5 separate regions of the Homo sapiens genome follow, and regions 2, 3, 4 and 5 are each linked to region 1. The links are contacts of gene promoters, found by promoter capture Hi-C in blood cells and fetal thymus (Javierre and others, 2016). All regions are on one chromosome and are shown on one strand. The core of a region is centred on a gene start or on the middle of the fragment in contact, and the rest is flanking DNA. Distances in the headings are between cores, read along the strand shown. Region 1 holds the start of LINC03122 (long intergenic non-protein coding RNA 3122). Region 2 overlaps NDUFAF2 (NADH:ubiquinone oxidoreductase complex assembly factor 2). Region 3 overlaps SMIM15-AS1 (SMIM15 antisense RNA 1). Region 4 holds the start of ZSWIM6 (zinc finger SWIM-type containing 6). Region 5 overlaps ZSWIM6 (zinc finger SWIM-type containing 6).

Evidence for each region. The method cuts DNA at HindIII sites, captures the fragments that hold promoters and counts their contacts. A CHiCAGO score of 5 or more calls a contact.
Region 2: a contact is called between a fragment that was not itself captured here and the fragment with the promoter of LINC03122 in region 1, in 4 of 17 cell types (naive B cells, naive CD4 T cells, total B cells and 1 more). The highest score is 7.5, in naive B cells.
Region 3: a contact is called between a fragment that was not itself captured here and the fragment with the promoter of LINC03122 in region 1, in 1 of 17 cell types (activated CD4 T cells). The highest score is 5.0, in activated CD4 T cells.
Region 4: the fragment with the promoter of ZSWIM6 here is called in contact with the fragment with the promoter of LINC03122 in region 1 in 15 of 17 cell types (activated CD4 T cells, total CD4 T cells, non-activated CD4 T cells and 12 more); the score reaches 17.0 in activated CD4 T cells.
Region 5: a fragment that was not itself captured here is called in contact with the fragment with the promoter of LINC03122 in region 1 in 1 of 17 cell types (megakaryocytes); the score reaches 5.2 in megakaryocytes.

The regions. Positions count from the first base shown.
Region 1 is chr5:61,636,438-61,639,108 of GRCh38, forward strand. It overlaps LINC03122 (long intergenic non-protein coding RNA 3122), which reads left to right and starts at 1,344. Exons shown (of 2, transcript NR_126525.1): 1 at 1,344-1,409. The HindIII fragment of the contact is 4,932 bases long and covers 1-2,671 here.
Region 2 is chr5:61,129,779-61,132,449 of GRCh38, forward strand. The region is part of intron 3 of NDUFAF2 (NADH:ubiquinone oxidoreductase complex assembly factor 2); the gene reads left to right. Among named protein-coding and RNA genes, the nearest start is that of SMIM15-AS1, 31 kb to the right of the region's middle. The HindIII fragment of the contact is 2,125 bases long and covers 281-2,405 here.
Region 3 is chr5:61,226,957-61,229,627 of GRCh38, forward strand. All of the region lies in intron 3 of SMIM15-AS1 (SMIM15 antisense RNA 1), which reads left to right. Among named protein-coding and RNA genes, the nearest start is that of LINC02057, 37 kb to the right of the region's middle. RefSeq lists a silencer at 752-952. The HindIII fragment of the contact is 1,809 bases long and covers 396-2,204 here.
Region 4 is chr5:61,330,906-61,333,576 of GRCh38, forward strand. It overlaps ZSWIM6 (zinc finger SWIM-type containing 6), which reads left to right and starts at 1,353. Exons shown (of 14, transcript NM_020928.2): 1 at 1,353-2,043. The coding sequence starts at 1,368. LOC105378994 (a long non-coding RNA gene) reads right to left here and starts at 1,311. Exons shown (of 2, transcript XR_007058781.1): 1 at 1,235-1,311. RefSeq lists an enhancer at 1-13 and silencers at 1-397, 428-497, 708-1,107, 1,218-1,357, 2,138-2,247. The HindIII fragment of the contact is 10,173 bases long and covers 1-2,671 here.
Region 5 is chr5:61,353,586-61,356,256 of GRCh38, forward strand. All of the region lies in intron 1 of ZSWIM6 (zinc finger SWIM-type containing 6), which reads left to right. Among named protein-coding and RNA genes, the nearest start is that of ZSWIM6, 23 kb to the left of the region's middle. The HindIII fragment of the contact is 1,300 bases long and covers 681-1,980 here.

The DNA.
Region 1 (2,671 bases), core at 94-2,593:
TAATCACAGGAGTGTGTTAGTTATCAAAGGAGTGGGCTCCACATAGAAGAATGAAGTTCTGGTTCCCTTCCTCTCTCTCTCTCGCATGCTCTCTTGTCAGGTAATGCCTTCTGCATGTTATGACACAGCAAGAAGGCCCTCACCAGATGCAGCCCCTTGATCTTGCACTTCCCAGCCTCCAGATCCATAAGACAAATAAACTTCTGTTATTTATAAGTTACCTAGCCTGTGGTATTCTGTTACAGCAGCAGAAAATGGACCAAGATATCTTACAGTTTTGGAGGCCAGAAGTTCACAGTGGGTTATCAGGGCAGGGCGTCTTCAGGAGGCTTGGGGTGGAGGGGGAGGAATCTGTTTTCTTGCCTTTTCCAGCTTCTAGAGGGTGCATGCATTCCTTGACTCATGACCCGACATCACTCCAATTTCTGTTTCCATTGTCACATCCCTGTCATTCTCACTCTTATCTTCCTATCTACCCCCTTATTAAAGACCATGGCAATTACACTGGGCCCACTCAGAAAGTCGATAGTAACATCCCCACTGCAAAACCTTTCATCACCTCTTCAAAGCCCCTTTTGCCATTTGAGGTAACCTATTCACAGCCTTCAGAATTTTTGAAGGAGGGGAGGCATCATTCTGCCTGCTATATACATAGTCTTTGGATCTCAGTTTCCACATCTGTAAAATGGAGAACTACTGTCTTCCCCACAGGGCTATTGAGATGATTGAATGAAGTAATTTCTGCTTATGAATTCCCAGCTCTGTGCCTGCCATGGAGGCAGGCAATTCTGATCCATGTTCTCTTCTGAGTGGGTTGTCAGCTGGAGGCCTTCTACTTCTTTCTAATCCATTAGCTTCTTGCTAGTGCTGCGTCCCCAGGAGGAAATCAGTAAATGCAAGAAATAATTACCTTGACAATGCCTTGCACATAGTAAGTACCCTAAAATAATTCATTGAATTGTTTGTTATTTTGGTGTTAATGGATGGGGATCATCTGATTAAATGTTATTATTTATTAGATCTAAAATATAAATTTGGATTCTTCTGTTGCACTTTTACCTAATTACTCTAAACACCAGTGGGAGAGAGGAATTAGTCACAATACAACTTAAAGAAAAAAATATCTTGCTGTCACTGACTTCTCTCCTTGGTCTGAAAACTTTCTGATTTTGTAGGATGCCACTGACTGCTCTTTCTGCAACTGAAAAATCTCTCAAAGGGCCCTGTCCAGTTAGGTCACACAAAGCCAGGCTGATTATTTAGAGAGAACACAATGCTCCCTCACATGGGGCACAGAGAGGAAGGAATTTTTTTTTTAAGCCAATTCCAGTCCCTGGAGCTGCAAACTGCCCTCAGGGCAAAGAAGCCTGCAGAATAATTGGGAGGAGTCTGGCAGGAAGGAAGCCAAGGTAAGTTAAGCTGCATTTCTGTCTATAGCCAGGGTCTCCATGCCACTTTTTAAACATCCCCTTCTGGGATAAACCTGTATGTCAAGATAAACAATTAAATAATATGCAAGGGCCAAATCAGGAAAACTGCAGCTTCAGCCCTAGAAAACAATGCCAAGAAACACCAGCCTGTCTGCCGCTGCTAAGTCGAGGAGATGGGTTCCCATGATTCCGTAAGAGAACTGGGTCAGGGAGGAGACACTGTCTGTTTAGAATATGCTTCAGGCCCCTAAACTTGGTCGGTTTATGCTTTTTCAGGTTAATAAAGTGGAAAATAACTTTACCTCATCCCTCTATCAAAGCATAGTGCGGCTGCCCCAGAGACCCCTAATACAGCCAGGGATGATGTGTTTGGAAAATGGGGCAAGAGAGGGTCCAAAGATGAGACCCCAAAACTGTGAGGGGGAGGTTGTGTGAGGAGGACAGACCAGAGCTGGAGGGGGACTGTGAGAAGAGGAGTCTGGTTGCTGCCGTCTCTGAAGGGTCTTCCTAGGCTCCCACACCATCATGTCTTGGCCAGCCAAGGCCAAGTGGTTGTGTAAACTTAGGATGGTCATAGAATCCTGAACTACTAGCACATGGGGGTTGAGCTTGTCTGAGGATCTTTTTGAGGAAATGGGGGAAGTATTATTCATGTAATGTGTGACCAGAGTATAGAAATCATGATCCCAGCAGATGGCATGAACGGACACTGAATAGTCCGAATGTCTCATCTCTCTGGACAGAGCAGGCTGGTGGGATCTGGGCAGTCGGGCTGGCTGAGGAGGCATATTTCAGAGTCCAGAGCGAATCCCAGCAGTAATGCCTGGGAACAAAGCCAACTGGTGCCCAGGGCAAGCAGCCCAGTTCTGGGGTCAGGCTACCAAGGTTGTACCAGGCAAGAGAAGAAGGGTGAGCAGGGGAATATTCAAGAGCATCCAAGAATGCAGGGAGCTAATGAGCATGGGAGTGCAGAACTGAGGTCAGAAGGCGTGGCCAATGGAAACTCCCAGCAGCCCTGTGCAGGGGCTCTGCGGATACCTGCTAGCTCTTGGGGCTTAAGCACGCAGTTCGGGACTGGCAGCTCAAAAATGTCTTGAGCAGATTGGCCCCTCAGATAAAGTGGGACACACAGTCTTTTTTTTTTTTTTTTTTTTTTTGAGACGGAGTCTCGCTCTGTCGCCCAGCCTGGAGTGCAGTGGCGCGATCTCTGCTCACTGCAAGCTCCGCCTCCCGGGTTCACG
Region 2 (2,671 bases), core at 93-2,592, 510 kb before region 1:
CTTAAAGTATAATAAAAAAGGAAAAGTACTTATAAGTAAAAAATAATAGTAGAAAATAAATGCTATTATCATACACTATGCAAATAAAACCCAGCTTTTTGTTCAACCTAGGCATGTTAAAAAGACTTTCTAATTCTAATATTACAAGTATCCTTGAGAAAATTTTCCAGATAAGAGCTGTTCTAATTCCTGCCACACTTAAAAGATAACTTAGTATAAAAGAAAAGAAACATTCTCAAGAATTATTCTAGAAAACATTCATCTAATCTGAATACCACGAAGCTTTTTATTGCCAGAATGCAAAGGAACCAACCTTGATGTCTTTTAAAAAAATGGTTTTACCTAGCAAATGGTAAGACAAACTTTTAGTTTGTATCTTTAACTGGTACTTTTCAAGGAATTGACTATCACTGTTGCTGAAACTTGTACTTAAATATGTAACACAAATATCACTTTCCTTGAAATGAGTTATGAATTGCCATCCCAGAGGATATCAGTAGAACCCAGGGTACAAGTTCCCAACTTTTGGGGTGCTCTGGCATCACAAGACTCTTCCTAAATTTGTTGTATGGCATGTAATTCATTTTGAAAAGGGAACAGTAGATTTTGAAACCATCAAAATTCTTGAGAAACAGGATTTGGATGCACTCTTGGTTATCATGAAAGCAACATTACAGGTTATTGAACCGGAAGAATTTCCCCAGAGATCTTATATAACTTGCCTGACTCACTTGCCATATTGCAGTGTTCAGTCAAGCCCAGTCCAAGATTTTCTGACAAGTCTGGTTCAGCAATGCCTGACTTGATGTGTTTTTTCGGAGAAGGAGTCAATGAGATTTACCTTCCCTCCCTCTAAATTACTTCTTATAGTGAAGGGTTTGTTTGATTCCCTTAATATTCATTTGATCTCTGAGAAGGAACATTGTTCCAGGGAAAACTAGCAGTAGGCCCCAAAAAGGAAGACTCTAAAATTTATTCAACAAATAACTTATAAATGCCTATTCTGTGTTAGATGTTGGAGATATAGAGGAGAATCTGCAGATGGCCAAGGGAGTTTATGCTCCAGTGAGAAAGACAGACACATAACAATACGAAACAGTACCAGAAATGGGACATTACAAATGTGAAAACAGGTTCAACCTTCTTTAGGCTGAAAACTGAAGGATAAAAAAGGAATACACGAGAGAGTAGCATGACACTAAAGCCAGATACTATGATGAAAAGATTGACAAATTTGACAACATAAGAAGTTTCTACTTTTTGATAGTTAAAATCCTAGACAAAGTTAAGCCAAAGACTGAGGGGAAAAGTTTTAAAATACAGAATAAAGACTTCTCTTTTTTGTATTGACAAAGTTGTGGGGAAACAGGTATTCTCATTCACCATAGATACAGGTGTAAGTTGATGTTAACTTTTTTTTCTTTTTTTTTTTTTTGAGGCAGGGTCTCACTTTCTTTCCCAGGCTGGAGTGCAGTGGAAAGATCATAGCTAACAGTAACCTCAAACTCCTAGGCTCAAGCAATTCATCCTCTTCAGCCTGGCACAGGCCACCACGCCCAGCTAATTGTGTTGTTTTTTTGGGGGGTTTTTTGGTTTGTTTTTTATGTTTGTTGTAGAGACAGGGTCTCACTTTGTTGCCCAAAATGGATGTTAACTCTTTAGAGAGCAATTTTCCAAATATATGAGAAACTTTTAATGCAGCAATTCCAGTTCTGAGAAGGTATCCTAAAGAATGAATGGCAAATGTATACAAATTTTATACAAGAATGTTGTTTGTAGTATTGTAAAATATGAACCATTCTAAACATTCATCTATAGGGGATTGAACGAATAAATTACAATGGAATACTAACTAGTATGCAGCCATTATGAAGGATAATGTACACCTATATATATTGACACAAAAAAGATGTCTGAAAAATATTGAGTGAAAAGCAGTTTATGGAATAGTATTCGTAGTATATATTTTATCTATAATTATAAACATGTAAATGGGATACACTATATTTATATTATAAACACATGTATATGCAGGGGGAAGTCTATAATGATTAGACTTTTTAACAGTGGATATGAAATTATGAGATATTTTCTATTTTGTAGATTTCTGTTGTTTACATTTCTGTATTTTTTTCAAGATGTATTACTTTTGCAGCTAAAAGAACAGTGATTTCCATTTTAAGAAAGAGAAAAGAACATTCTGAAGGAGCTTTTAAAAGTTCTGCTTTTCCCCTTGGCAAATATGTACTCCCACACTATTTCAAGTTTCTTGTTTCTTTGCTAAACCAAAATGGCAAGCGGATTAAATGAGAAGTATATGGCAACACAGCCAGTCACCTATTTACTTACATTCACTAGCTGTGTGATTTGTCTATTTATAGTTTGTTTCTTCCTACTAGAATCTAAGCTTCATGAAAGCAGGACTGTGTTTTGGTCCCTGCCATCTCTCGAGGATTTAGAACAGTACCTGGCTCAGAGTTCATGCTCAATAATATTGAGTGATTGTGTACATGAATAAGTGAAAGAAAGAGGGCTTCAGCCTAGGTCTTTTGGTGGGTTCCTTCTTTACCCTTGATTCTCCGTCTCCTTTGTTCTTATTTCCCAGTGATCTTTTTGCTTCCCTCCCCCACCTCCTTTGAGAATTCTCACCTCAATTTGTTTCTTCATATTG
Region 3 (2,671 bases), core at 50-2,549, 410 kb before region 1:
AATAGATTTAATGCCTTGATAGAGACTGATAGACTTCTTACTCCATTACTTCCCACAGAGCTGGTTGCTAAAGAGCCTGGCACCTCCCAGCTCTCTCCTGCCTCCTCTCTCACCCTGTGGTCCCTGCACAGGCTGGCTCCTCTTGGCCTTCTGCCTTGATCGGAAGCAGCCTGAGGCCCCCACCAGATGCAGATGCCCAATCTTGAATTTCCCAGCCATCAGAATCATGAGCCAAATAGACCTTTTTTTCCTTTATAAATTACCCAGCCTCAGGTATTCCTTTATAACAACACAGTGCTTCTTTTCACTGGCCACTTCTCACCACCCCATTGCCACTACACTGGTCCAAGCCAAAATCAGTCTTCTCTGGATGAAATGGGCAAAAGCCTTGAATAAGCTTTCACAGAAGCAGAAACACAAATGACCAATGTTCACAATATGTTTAATCTCATTAATATCAGAACAATTCAAGTTCAAATTTGCAATGTAAATCGCTAGATTTAAAAAATATCATAAGTGTCATAAGACAAAGTGTGAGTGAGGATATGGAACAAATGGAAACCCTAATGCCTGCTGTTGGAAATGCCAATTGTGCCATCATGGAGAAGACAATTTGGTATTAACCCCTAAATATGAACTTCACCATGTGTACCAGGAGACCTGTTTTGGAATGTTTACAGCAGCACTGTTTATCATAATAACAAAATCAAACAACCCTTCTCAAAGAAACACAATTTTGAGAAGCTAGAAAGAACTCAGATGTCCATTGACTGAATGAGTAAATGAACTCATGAATATGAATAAATAAATTATAGTATATTCATACTATATAGTTTGGGGCAGTGAAAATGAACGAAGCACAGCTGCACACTGGCTTTCTCTTCAGTCCTGCTGGCCCGTGTTGCTCACACCATACAGTTCAACTCCACAGTGGATCCAGTAACACCGTCCATCCAGTGCCAGTGTGGGCTTTCAGTGCGGCCCCAGCTCCCTTCCTCTTAAATGCCACCTCTGACTCATCCTGCTTCTGGCTTTATCCACCAAATAGTTACTGGACCTCACCTCCAACGCAGGCGCTGTGTGTGTGTGTGTGTGTGTGTGTGTGTGTGTGTGTGTGTGAGAGAGAGAGAGAGAAAGAGAAAGAGAGGTGATTCTTGAGGAGAGAGAAGATTCCAGAACAGTGTTATGATTCTGTTAGGAAGAGGAAGGAGGGAATAGATGCTGGATATGCCTGCACGCAGCCACTGCCCACTACTGCTGGTTTGTTTCTGTGTCTTCTACCATAGTGCAAACTCCTTAAGGGGAGAAACCATGTCAGTCGTCTCTGCATTCCCCTACCACAGTGCCTGGCACATGCCAAGCATTCAAGAAATATTGAACAGAAGCATAGCATGAGAGAGACCTAACTGGTCAGACCTATGGAAATAGACCTAACTGAAACAGAAACCAGGTCAAGAGCCTCTTGCCAGAACCAACACGCTCCCTGGGAGAGCTGCTATCAAAAGATAAGGAAATGGGTGGATGACAAATTAGGAAGTAGAGGCAGTTTAAGGGCTACTCTGAGTGGCAAAACAAAAGCACGGTGGTCAGGTACAATGATCGCCCCTGGGGAAGGGAGCTAAGTTCGCAAGGCTGTGACCACCGTTGCCTTTTAATGAAATCTTCAGAAGTAACCCCATAGGAAGGTGGTATTTTCCTGATCTTAAAAGAAGCACAGCAGGAGTTTTTGTTCTCCAGCCGCGGAGTCGTGGAACATGGCTTGCCATCCAACTGGAACGGCATTTTTGGCAGCAGTGCCTTTTGGTAGCTTTTCCCAGCTTGCCCTCTGCATAAGCCAGCCACTGCCCAGGCAGGCTGTGGTGGCACCACAATGCAGATGCACCAGGCCCTCTGGGCTCACCCACTTGCCTCTGTGTTTGAAATCAGTCCAGTGTTAATGCATCATACACCCCTGGTGATGACTCATTTACAACCCCTGTGTCTGAGAAGGTGCCGGAGAACTCAGAGAAGAGAAGCTCAAAATTGTCCTGACTTACGGTCAAAACACTAAGATCTGGCCAGTGTGTGCAAGTATTTCAGGACCAGAATCGACCCTCCTCCCCCGCTTCACAGCAGGGTCATCACATGTGGTTACGCATGTGGTTGCACGGAAGCTCTGGCTGCGGTATAGGGGGCACTGAATCCAGATTGCACTCTGCTCACCAAGCTTGCAGGTGGGGTGCTTCCTCCATCTGCCTGGACGATGGGGCTCTTTTCTTCTCCTAGACACTTCTGCTTGCCAAGCCAGGGCTGCATCTGCCTAGAGGGGCCCTCTCATCTAACTGTTACAGAGGCACAGTGTTACCTTCCCATCCTATCCTTAGGACAGACCCAGAAGCCTTGGGCTGATTTGAGCTTGCTTTTTGTCCCAGCAGGAAGTATGCAAGTATGCAAGAACCAGCAGCTTTCTTACTGGCAGTGAGACCATCCGAGATGCTTGTCCTCCTTGATCCTGTTCTCTGCCAACTTCCCATTCCCCTTCCTGCAGATGGGCCGTGATCCTGGCCTATCTTCCCAGCTTTGCTCATGGTTATCTGTGTCTTCCTGGTTGCTGTCTGTCTGCAGAGCATCCTCTGACCCATTGATCACCCTGCTGGTGGGGGCCGTGGCTGCTCAGTCTGCTCTCAACCTG
Region 4 (2,671 bases), core at 103-2,602, 310 kb before region 1:
CGGCGCGCGTCCCGAGCGCCTGGACTCCGCGCAGCCGGGCGCCGCGCACCCGGGTGCCGGGGTGGGAGCCGGGCCGCAGACCCAAGTGCGCCCGAAGCCGCCGTCCGCCGCCTGGCACGCCGTCTGCCGCCTGCTGGGCGATGTGTGCGCGAGCCCGTGGGGCTTGCGCGCGCCCTGCGGCGTGTGTACTCACAAAGGTGTGTCTGCTAACCCCACAGCCCGGGCTGCGTTCCACCCCGAGCTGGAGAAACCCCGGCCTGGAGCGGGGCCTTGTCCGCGCGGCCGCGGGGGCGACAAGGGCGGCCGGAGCTCCTCGACTTCTAGCGGGCGGGTCGGTTTCCTGGCCCGAGGGGCTGAGGCAGCGAGGGCGGGACGGTGGCAGCCGGCACCGGACGCGGGTCGCGCGGCTGCTGGGCACGTTCCGAGCGCTCTGCGTGTTTTCGGGCACAGCCCTGCAGCCGAGACAGAACGGACGCGGGGCTCGGGGATGGGCGCACTGCAGCCACGCGGGGTTAGCAGAGCGGGCGCGCTCCTTCCACACCAGGTCTGCAAAAGTGAAGTGGAAAGCCGCCGCCGAACGCAGCCATCCTCCCCCTTCCCCGCTGCAGCTTCGGCGGGTGGTGGGGAGAGCTCCCCTGGACCGGCTGGAGGGGAAGCTGGCAGGCGCTCGGGTTTGGCCGCGCCTCCTCCGCCTTCCTCTCCACCCGCGTCCCCCGGGGTCCATGCCGCATTTCTTTGTTTTGAAAGCGCCTCCTCCGCCCAGAGGCTTTTCCCCCGAAGGGCAGGGGGACGGGGGGGGTGGGGCATCGGCCCGTGGGCCCCGCCCTCCATTTAGCTCAGAACCCTCCCCTTCGCTCACCCCCTCTTCTCCCCTTTCCTCCCCCGCTGCGACCCACGAGGCGCATCCTCACTTCTCGGACTTCAAAGAGAAGCTGAGAACTGGAGGGGGAAGTGGGGTAGGCAGGGGGCGCAGAGACCCACCCACCTCAGGCCCGGCCCGGCGGCCCGCCCCCTCCCACGGGAACCCCGCCTGACCCCGCCCTCCCCCGCGTCACAGCAGCCTGACATTCTCACAACCCACCGGGCACCAAAACGGCCCGCCCCCGCCACCCCCGTGTCCGCCAAGCGCTCTATTTATGTTTCAGCCCAGCGATTTGCATAGGCCCCGCCCCCGGCCCTAGGTTCCCCCTATCAGAGCCCCGCCCCAGCTTCTGCGTCACAGCGGAGGCCCCACCTCTTGTGCCCATACAAGGAGCGGCGGGCCCTAGATGGCATCGTGGCGTCGCGACGGCGTGTGCGTGTCGCGCTTCCTAGTGCCGTTTATAGGGTCCCGGCACTTCCGCTGTCGGGTTAGAAGCGGCGCGGTCATGGCGGAGCGCGGACAGCAGCCTCCTCCCGCGAAACGGCTTTGCTGCCGGCCGGGCGGCGGCGGCGGCGGCGGGGGCAGCAGCGGCGGCGGCGGCGGCGCGGGTGGCGGCTACAGCTCTGCCTGTCGGCCAGGCCCGCGGGCGGGTGGCGCGGCGGCGGCGGCGGCGTGCGGGGGCGGCGCGGCGCTGGGGTTGCTGCCGCCGGGCAAGACCCAGAGCCCCGAGTCGCTGCTGGACATCGCGGCGCGCAGGGTGGCGGAGAAGTGGCCGTTCCAGCGCGTGGAGGAGCGCTTTGAGCGCATCCCGGAGCCGGTGCAGCGCCGCATAGTCTATTGGTCCTTCCCCCGCAGCGAGCGGGAGATCTGCATGTACTCGTCCTTCAACACCGGCGGCGGCGCCGCGGGCGGCCCCGGCGACGACAGCGGTGGCGGCGGCGGCGCGGGCGGCGGCGGCGGCGGCGGCTCCTCGTCTTCCCCGGCCGCAACCTCGGCGGCCGCAACCTCGGCCGCCGCCGCCGCTGCCGCCGCCGCCGCCGCCGCCGCCGCCGCCGCGGGGGCCGGGGCCCCGTCGGTGGGGGCTGCCGGGGCGGCGGACGGCGGCGACGAGACGCGGCTGCCTTTCCGCCGGGGCATCGCGCTGTTGGAAAGCGGCTGCGTAGACAACGTCCTGCAAGTCGGTGAGTCACGGGGCAGCCGCGAGCCGTCTGTCCGTCCGTCAGTCCCTGGGTGGGGGGGGGGTGCCCGCCTTTCTCCTGCGGACAGCCCCTAGTTCCGCGCGCGCCCGCACCCCTGCGGGTGTCCTCACTGGCCCGGACGGTCCTCCTGAGCGGAGCGCCCATTTCCTCCCTCCCTTCCCTGCCCCCCGTCGCCCCGGACGGGCCAGCGCGAGTGGGAAATGAATCAGCAGGACGCGCCCCTCCGTGGGCTCCGCGCCCCCGGCCCGCGCTCCCCTACCCGCCCTCCTCCGGGGAGCACATCCTGGAGGGCTGTTCGCCGGTTTCGGGGGTGGATGTGGACAAAGGCGCGGGCGGACGGCCGGCCTCCGGCGAGGGTGTGTGTGGCGGGGCTGTGCGGGGCGGGGGAGGGGGCGCGGGCCGCAGACAATGCCGGCCGCGGCCCGGCCGCTCGGCGCTCCCCCCCTCTCCCACTGCCTGTCGCTCGCTCCTTTTTCTTTCTGGCCCCCGCCCCACGCGATTTGAGGGGAGGGGAATACACTTAAAGCCGCTCGGCCGCCGCTCCTCCCAGGGCTCCGACGGGCGAGCGGCCGCGGCGCTCCCGGGTCGCTGTGGCGTCTGGCCCGGGCGA
Region 5 (2,671 bases), core at 81-2,580, 280 kb before region 1:
ACTTCTGAATGTATTATGTTTTATTTTTTTCTCTTTGATAAGTAGTAATGGATGTGTAACCCATTCACGATATAGTACCTTCTTGTTCCTTGGAGCTGATACTACACTCAGTTGAGGGTGACTTTTTCTTTGTTGGACATTTACAAATAATTTCAGTCACAACATTTAGTGACATAAATACTTTGACTTGAAACAATTACCATTTTCTCGATTTTTAGTGGGAGACTGGGGCAATGTGTGTAGGACATCCTTCAGAAACAGATGAGTATAACAAGCTGTGTGAGGCAGTAGAGGTGCACACACCTCAGTTACTGGAAGGCACAACTTCGAGTTCTTGTGGATTGTGTTGGCAGCCCTGTAGATAGATTCAGCAGATGCTGTAGACATTCTCTTACTACCGAATTATAGCTTAAAGACCTAACTCTTAGAGCAAGCCTTAAAATGTGCTTTCCCCGCTTTGTTTTAGGAAACTCTTCTGTTTGCTGATGAGGAAAGGTTATCTTTCCAGGCAGCATCCAGGAATGGTCTTTTGAATGTCTTCATGCCTTCTTGTGACCTCATTCCTGCTGCCATCGTACTTATCCCTGCTCAGATTAACTGCCTGCGTGTTCAACTTTATTCCATAGTTGGATCTACCTGTAGCATTTGCAGCTTTCTGTGTAGACTGGGCACAAGTTAAAAGCTTAGGAAGTCTATATAACTCACCATAATTTTAGCACTTTAACTTATTAAGGTACATGTTTTGGTTATCTGATTTATAGAAGTACCATGTAAAAATCCACCTATGCTGTACAATTGCTGAAATACTGAGTAAGCTCTGCATTTTATGACCAAGTTATAGGATGAATAATTACTCTCTGGAGTGAATGGTTCAAAATGAAATAACTGTATGCCTTAGGTGTGACGTGACACGAGATGTATTTAAGCCCCAAAAGTATGTAATTATCACACTACTCTTGCATAGACACACAAGTACATTTTTGCTTATGGCAAGAGTTTTATGTGCAAAAGAAAACTCACTTTCTGGTAAGCGAAGGAACAGTCCATTATTTTTGAGGGGTTCATAAGTTGTTTGGTATTAGAGGCTCCATTTCAATCCCCCTGCATTTCTTTAGGGTCTAATTTAAATTCATACATCACTTGATTCTAGAGTAAACCATTATCATACCCTGGATTTTGAATATTAAGGACAGTTGAGGGAGTTTCTCAAAGCACCATTTTATGACTTATAGTCTGCCTCTGTATTCAGTGACTTATTATATATTCCATTCTTAGACTGCATTTTGATCATCAACTGTATTAAGGCAATATATGTTGTACTTTATTTTACTTTCTACTGAAAGTAAGAGCTATTTTGTAGTCTATTTAGATTTTTAATTTTATAATCTGGTCTCATTTTACAGATCATGAGTAATTAAAGGTATCTCAAGCTGATTTGTCCTGTTTTTAATTCAGTATTAAAGTATTATTTTAATCACATTAAAAATGTGACTGATATTTTTTGTTTATCACAATTCTACTAGCCCCACTGAGTAACTGCTGCTGTTGAATTAGTGATGGGGTTATATCAGTTTCCCTTGTCAAAGGACCAGATACGTCAGCTTGGGTATTTAGCTTGGTAGTTGTGACTTAGTTTTCTGTTCTCAAGCCCAGGAGATGAGAATTCCTTATTCTGGGTGCCAGTGGAGGCCTACAGTGGCTCCTGGGTGTTCCTTTGGGCTAGAGAAAGTCAAGTTGAGATGCCCCCGGCTTTCAGACTAGAAAAATAAATAGCAGTGATGGTATTGATGTAGCTAAGTGATGTAGCTTACCTGTTTACAGTGCGAATCTCTTGAGAGACTTTAAAACACACACACACACACACACACACACACACACACACACACACACACACACACACACACACACACACTATTAGATGGCAGGAGCCAGAATGTTAACTTAGTTTTGTAACTAAGTGTTAGAGAACAATACATTTAAAGCTTTAAACTTTTAAAAAATATAATTTACAAGTAATTTGTAGAAAAGGATAGTAGATTGCTACCATTATGCTAAATATCAATCTGTTCAGTAAAGAGACTGGCAAATTTTAATTCATCTATAATTTTGCTGTCTGATGTGGTAGCCATGTGGCAGGCTGGAATTGAGATTACTGAAAGTGTAACACATGCACCAGAGTTTGAAGACTTAGTGCAATAAAAAGAATGTAAAACATTATGAACAATTTATTGAAATGATAATATTTGTGTTAAAAGTATTATTAGAATTAATTTAGCCTGTTTATTTTAATTTTTAAAATGTGACTACTAGGAAATTTAAAATTACATAGTGGCTTCATTATTTTTTAATTAGTGCTAGTCTCTAGGCCCTTTGGTCTCATAATAAGTTCTTTCTGTTTATGTATACAATTCAGTTATGATTTGATTACATACTTGATTTTAACTTTTTGCCAGCATAAATCTAAACACTGTAGTGATTCTTAAACCTTAGTTTCAAAACACTGTGTGTGTGTGTCTGTGTGTGTGTTTCGGCAGAGATGGAGCCTTGCTCTGTTGTCCAAGCTGGAGTGCAGTGTCAGAATCATAGCTCACTGCAGCCCCGAACTCGGGTTCAAGTGATCTTCCTGCCTCAGCCTCCCAAATAGCTGGGACTACAGGTGCACGCCACCATG